Linked DNA regions of Homo sapiens: region 1 is linked to region 2. The links are contacts of gene promoters, found by promoter capture Hi-C in blood cells and fetal thymus (Javierre and others, 2016). All regions are on one chromosome and are shown on one strand. The core of a region is centred on a gene start or on the middle of the fragment in contact, and the rest is flanking DNA. Distances in the headings are between cores, read along the strand shown. Region 1 overlaps ARHGAP18 (Rho GTPase activating protein 18). Region 2 holds the start of TMEM244 (transmembrane protein 244).

Region 1 (3,580 bases), core at 856-3,355, 260 kb after region 2:
ACATTCTCCAAACATTGTTTTCTGATCTGTAAAATGGAGGTAATTACAGCATCTGTCTCCAAGTTAGGATTAAGTAATCTCTATCGTGCTTCATAAACTGCCTCATTCATAGAGAACATTGAATACCTGTGCAGTTATAGTTACTGTTGTTCTAGAACAAAAGAAGAAGGCAAAAGAAAAATCTGAAGCCTTAAGTCATGTTAGAGTAGGGTGACCTCAGCTGCATTTGCCTTTTGGAGAAGGTAGTTTCAGAGGACAATGAGTGTCTGCAATAGGGGTGGGTGTACGTGGCATCAAGCTGAGCATAACCTAACCTGTTCTGATGAAAAGTTTCTTTTCATTCATTTTAAAAAAAATTCTCAGCTGGGTATGGTGGCTTACACCTGTGTAATCCTAGCACTTTGGAAGGATGAGGTGGAAGTGTTTCTTGAACTCAAGAGTTCAAGACCAGCCTGGGCAACATTGCGAGAATTTGCCTCTATGAAAAATCAAAAAAATTAGCCAGGCATGGTGGCATGCACCTGTGGTCCCAGCTACTCTGGAGACTGAGGCAGGAGGATCACTTGAGCCGAGGAGTTTGAGGCTGTAGTGAGCTATGATCTCTCACTGCACACCAGCCTGGGCAACAGAGTGAGACCTGGTCTCAAAAAAAAAAAAAAGAAAGATTCTCTTTGGTCTTTCCTCATTTCCCCGCTTTCTCTATCACAATATTCCCTCACCTCTCTTTTCTTTTCTCTTTTCTTTTCTCTTTTCTTCTCTCTTTTCTCTCTTCTCTCTTTTCTCTTTTCTCTTTTCTCTCTTCTCTTCTCTTCTCTTTTCCTTTTTTGAGAGAGGGTTTCTCTCTGTTGCCTAGGCTGGACTCAGACTCCTAAGCTCAGATGATCCTCCCACCGATCTGGGACTACAGGTGTACACCACCATGCCCAGTGCCTGGGACTACAGGTATGCACCACCATACCCAGTGCCTGGCTCATTCTTTATAAGTTCCACATCAGCCAGATATTGATTGCCTTAAAGAAATGAGACTGAAGTTGAATGACCCTTTTTGAGGGAATTTTTAAAAATCTCTACATAGGAAAGTACAGCATTTCCTGAAATAAGCAAATGTTTGTATGATGTTTTACATTACTTTTCAGCTCTCCATGACTCCCATAGGCCAGAGGTCTGACACTTCCCCACTCCTCTCTCTGCTCCCTAGTTCAGCTATGTGCCATCTCTGCTTCATTCCCCAGCACCATGGTCCTTAGTAGAAGCAAATTTCCATCTCAGGGAGCATCAACCAAATGGAGAAGCTTTGGTAACAGGGCCTGCTGGATGTGATTAGTTGACTGTGCTTATACACAACTTGTTTTTTCAATGAAATAAAAATTGCATATGCTACAGTGCTTTAATCTTTTATCTTCATATATGACACAAATCTCAAAGAGTCATTTCTGTTTCAGGCCCTTCTTGAATTTCTCCAAAGAGTAATAGATAATAAAGAAAAAAATAAAATGACAGTCATGAATGTAGCAATGGTCATGGCCCCGAATCTCTTTATGTGTCATGCATTGGGATTGAAGTCCAGTGAACAGCGAGAATTTGTAATGGCAGCTGGGACAGCAAATACCATGCACTTATTGATTAAGTACCAAAAACTTCTGTGGACAGTAAGTATATATCATATGCTTTGGTCTTAGTAGTTTAAAAAACAAATTGCATGTTTGTTATTAGCTTTATTAATTTACATTTAAAATTTGTGAGTGCAGAAAATATTAAAAACATTTTATTCATATAGGTAAGGAGGGCCCTGTGAATTTCTGTTTTAAAATTATGTCAAAACATGCCTTGTAAGAAGTACTTTTTATTTACTTCTGCCTATTTTCCCATTTCTCAGTGTTTAGGCCTGCTGTATTTTTAAAAGCCCATGCTATCTTGGTTTCAGATTATTCAGTTCTTTTTCATAGACCCTTTATTGAAAGGGATGCATGCATTTTGTACCCTTATTAACTGAGAACATCTTCAAAAATGGTTTCCTCTGTTTTACACTTATTTTGAGCTTGTTTTGACAGCTTATCAGAGGATGGAAGTGGATGAGAGGCTTCGTTGATTAGGTGCTCATTTTCCAATGAAATTTATAATTTTTCAGGAGGCATCTTATAAGCATTTAGGAAAAAATGACCTAAAGGAATTCCAAGCAAAATTATAATATTGAATATTTCAATCTCTTATTTGAGGAGCTTCCAAACATTAATTTGTTAAAAAGACAGAGTGATGATATTTAGATCCTGAAGTCTTTATTTTTATAATCCATAAAAAGACAACTGATGTAGATGATTTCAAATGTGTTTTTTTAATAAAAAATTAATGTCCATTTATTAAATCTCAATGTTTGAAATGTCAAAATTATTTCATGGTTACATTTTGATACCTTAAAATATTTTGTTTTTGCTAATGTGATTTCTTAGGATAAATTTGTTCTGGATTTTTGCTAGCTACCTATCAGCTCTTGTTTCTTGGGGAGTTCTTTCTCTCATGACAGCAGCGGCTAGCTGGTTATTAGAAGGGGACTTGAGGTTAGCTAGCAGGGCTGTAGGTAGGAGGCTGCAAAAGGAAAGACCTACGGAGGTGGCTTCTACTGCTCGTCACCTCAGGGGGTCTCCAGTCTGGCATAGAAAACGGCCACTATGTCCTTGAACTTCACAAAGCCTCTTTTGGAACCTTCCACAGTGGGTGGCAAATTATACCACGTGGATGCCCTGTACACCTGGTAAGTGAATAATATGAAGTATTTTCTTTTCACAGATTTAATGAATAGTGCATGTAAAATGGCAGTCTTATCAAAAAGAGAAACTCTTTACTGTTTTTGAAATTTAAAAAAATATAATTTTTTTTTGTAGTTTAAAATGGTGGCATTTCTTTTTCCTCTCTAAGCTTAATTCCTTTTCTCTATAGATTCCCAAGTTTATTGTAAACCAAGTGAGGAAGCAAAACACGGAAAATCATAAAAAGGATAAAAGAGCCATGAAGAAATTGCTGAAGAAAATGGCTTATGACCGAGAAAAATATGAAAAGCAAGATAAGAGTACAAATGATGTAAGAAAATAGTGGAGATATGTATTTATTCAGATCTTAAGTATTTTTTTAATACCAAAATTTTTTATTTAATGTTTTCATAGTATGACTTTCTGCCACTTATTAGGCTGTGGTGCTACTTGTAAGTGAAAGACATCAGTAACTGTCTTCCTACTACTGCTGCTAATGATCAGTATTGACAGTTGGTCAGGTGTTGGTGACTCAGCATGTGAGTTGTTAATGGGGAACAAAGGAAGATATCAAGACAAGACTGAACACACACACACACACACACCCCTACACCCCTACCCCTACCTCTACCTCTCGTGCGGAGACTCTAGTCGCCTACTGAATATATAATCTATAGTGAGTAAATAACATCATGTGAACCACTGACATTTTTTTCTAAATTTTTCTCATCTGTAGAATGGGGAAAAATAACTAATCCAGATGGACAAATAGGTTAATGTTTGTGTTGTGCCTAGGATTATTCCTGGACTTTAATAAGTATTTGAAGGTTCTCAAT
Region 2 (3,583 bases), core at 187-2,686:
GGCTTTTATCCCAAAACAGGCAATAACAAATGCTGGTGAGGATGTGAAGAAAAGGACACCCTCATACACTGCTGGTGGGAATGTAAATTAGTACAGCCACTATGGAGAACAGTTTGGAGGTTCCTCAAAAGAGAAAAATAGGACTGCCATATGATCCAGCAATCCCACTGCTGAGCATATACCCCAAAGAATGGAAATCAGTCTATCGGAGAGGTATCTGCATGCCCATGTATATTGCAGCATGTTTCACAATATCCAAGATTAAGAAACAACCTAAATGTCCATCAACAGACAAGTGGATAAAGAAATGTGGTACAGGTACAGAATAGAATTCAGCCAAAGGAAAGAATGAAATCCTGTCATTTGCAACAATATGGATGGAACTGGAGGTCCTTATGTTAAGTGAAATAAACCAGGCACAGAAAGACAAACTTCATATGTTCCTACTTATTTGTGGGAACTAAAAATGGAAACAATTGAACTCATTGAGATGGAAAGTAAAAGAATGGTTACCAGAAGCTGGGAAGGGTAGTGGGAGAAAAGGGGGAGTGTGGGGATGGTTAATGCATACAAAAAAGAGAGAGAATGTATAAGATCTAGTATTTGATAGCACAACAGAGTGACTATAGTCAATAATAATTTAATTGTACATTTAAAAATAACTAAAAGGGTATAATTGGATTGCTTGTAACACAAAGAATAAATGCTTGAGGTGATGGAAATCCCACTTACCTTGATGTGATCATTACATATTAGATGCCTATATCAAAATATATCATGTACCCCATAAACTCTATGGGGTATATTACTATATTACTATGTAATCACAGCAATTAAAAATTAAAATAAAAATAATAATAGAGTTGGTGCCAGTAAAAAGATGGGAGAATGAATTGTAAATGAAGGATTGGTTCTGGAGCCTCAGGACGCAGAGAGACAGAGCTCCAATACTGCCTCCTGGCAGTTCTTGAAAACATTCTACCCACAATATTGTGGCCATTATTTTAGAGTATGGGAACCCTTTTGTTTCCTAACAAAAAGTCATAAGTTTTACATTTCTTTGCCATGATGTGAAAGGAACTGATGATTTCTTTCTCAGAACTCTGTGGCCCTTGTGAGTGAAACAGAGAGGACAGGCCACGCTTCAACATGAATGCAGCAGCATCCTTTGGAAACAATCTCAAGACCTAACTGAAAACCCATGTTTCTAATTTAAGTATGAGACAGTAATTACTCATACAGCCAGAGAGGATTCCAAGTCCCTGCCTATTTGCCGCACTATCTAAAAACAATCAACTCATCTTTCAAATCTGACCAAACTACAAATGGTATGAGAACTCCATCGTTTAATAAGGATGTTCATTTTGGCACTTAGCAGCTTACGCGTGGCTCACAGATGGCATCTGTCTCGTTTTGCGTAATCCAATCATCCTGCACTACTGCGTCTCACACTTAGTCTCCAGGAGTAATTGAAAAGCTCACGGTGACAATTGTGTCTTCTTCCAGATGTCATCGCTATAAGGAGTGGGGCTTTCATCACCTCCTTGACGTAGGATGTGTACATGGCTCTCCAGGTCAGAGTTGCTCCAAGCAAGGTAAAGAGAAATTACTTCTTTGCATTGCCTTTCAGTTGCTGCCTAGCACTGGTGTAAATGAATATGTTCTATAAATGGCCTCTCTGTCAGTGGGCAACTTGTTTCACTTTTGGCTGGGTACCATACAGAAAACATTCTGCTGCACGGCTTGCATCTTGTGGTAATAGGGCAATATAAAGGCACCCATGCCCAAGAAAGGATTCTAAAACATGTAAATAGTCGCTGTTTAGAAGGCACCATTTTATTCGGAGGTAAGCTCTCTGGTATTAGCACCTGCACGTCTGCTATCGTTTTCTGAAATCATGACAGTTTGTTCTCAATCTTTTTTTCTTTTTTTTTTTTGCAGGGAGTGGCTTTTATTTTTGTAACTTCTAAAGGGTGCGCAAAATTTTAAATGCAAAGTGTTGAAACATTTCAAGCTGTAGGTTTGTTAGTTTCTTTTTCCCCCGAGGCTAGTGTTAATAGTTGTGTTTTACTTCAGTGCAAAAATACCCCTTTAAAAAAAAATCAAACAATCGAAAACAAGGAAATATGCAAAGCCTCAAAGCAGCTGTGTAAATTCATACAGGCTTTAGGCCTATAATGAGCCAGACTTAAGGGAATGATAGTGGAAAATCAGATTTTTACTTAAAAATTAAATTACAATTATGAGTGAGTGCTACATTCATTTTAGTAAAATATCAGCACCGTGTGTATTTCCTCAAGCTTTTTCTTTACACTACCATCATCACCACATATGTCATCAGTGAGAAATGTTGAGCATGACAACAGCTAAGAAAAATTTTCAAGGTCAGTAAAACATTATTTCAGGAAAAATATTTTTAAAAAGCTTATTTTTAAGGGGTTATTAAACTTCGTAATTTATGTATAGATTTGGGATTGAACTAGCAATAATAACTTCTGCTGAAGAGATAAAAATTAGAAGATAAAATCCTTTCTCTTAAGTAGCTTACACAAAGAATGGGGGCTCTATATTTAGTCGGGGCTTACACAGACCAGACAGACAGACACACACACACACACACACACACACACACACACACACACACACGCATTGCAGAGAAAATATCCAGATAGTTGCTGCAGTTCCTCACTATCTTAGAATCATCTGAGCTTCAAGTGTAGAATTAGAGCCTTAGAACATTAGAAGAATAGTGAATATGTTCAAAATAGATAGGTTGTTGACTATCTGAATTCTCATGATACATCCCTATAAGTTATGAGTTAACTTTTCTTTTAAGTGCTTGTTCACTGTCAATATTATCAGCACAAGAATTACTGATATGCTTATAAATTAATAGTAATAGCAAAAGTGACCTTCATCTAGAGATAACTCGAATACTCAACAAACATTTATTGAGTGCATGCAATGTGCCAGGCATTGGGCTAATTAAATCCCCCCTATCTGTACACTTTAAATGACAGAAAAGCTGACTCAAGGGAAAGAGTCATGGCCAAAGGCCATTTAATTAATTTGCTGTCTGGGAAAATAGCACAAGAACTGGGAAGAAAGCCCAAGTATGAGGACTGCTAAACTGTTCAGAATACAATGTATTCTACTCCAGTAGACGGCATGTTTCCTAACTATGTTAAACTAATGTAAACTTTCCTCTGTAAAACAAATGTTGTAAAAATCTCAGAAGCACAACACATTCCTGCATATCCTCAGAGTTGTTCACCTGAACTGGAGAATTTCATTCATTCAGGCAATTTCAGAGGGAACTACTTACCAGTAGGACGGAGCCTTTGCTGTGATTCTACAAGTGAGAGAGTCATATCTCATGATTTCTCCAGGAATTGTCCAAAGAACTACAATGCAGTCTTTCCTATGGGGAGAAGTAAGAGAGAAAGTATTATCTATTGGGAACATACAGTACTTAATGTTAAGAATTGTATACATGTTCAGAATACAAATCCCTTATGAAACTTTACCTGTAGATGAGTAGAACAAAACTCAGAAAGTAACCAGCCAATGTCACACACTTGTC

What was found. The method cuts DNA at HindIII sites, captures the fragments that hold promoters and counts their contacts. A CHiCAGO score of 5 or more calls a contact.
Region 1: a contact is called between a fragment that was not itself captured here and the fragment with the promoter of TMEM244 in region 2, in 1 of 17 cell types (erythroblasts). The highest score is 5.0, in erythroblasts.

What each region holds. Positions count from the first base shown.
Region 1 is chr6:129,598,711-129,602,290 of GRCh38, reverse strand. ARHGAP18 (Rho GTPase activating protein 18) reads left to right here. Exons shown (of 15, transcript NM_033515.3): 11 at 1,443-1,649; 12 at 2,935-3,075. Among named protein-coding and RNA genes, the nearest start is that of ARHGAP18, 110 kb to the left of the region's middle. RefSeq lists an enhancer at 3,133-3,427. The HindIII fragment of the contact is 1,621 bases long and covers 1,295-2,915 here.
Region 2 is chr6:129,859,168-129,862,750 of GRCh38, reverse strand. TMEM244 (transmembrane protein 244) reads left to right here and starts at 1,436. Exons shown (of 5, transcript NM_001010876.2): 1 at 1,436-1,595. The coding sequence starts at 1,563. LOC105377999 (a long non-coding RNA gene) reads right to left here. Exons shown (of 8, transcript XR_942986.3): 2 at 3,326-3,421. The HindIII fragment of the contact is 8,219 bases long and covers 1-2,302 here.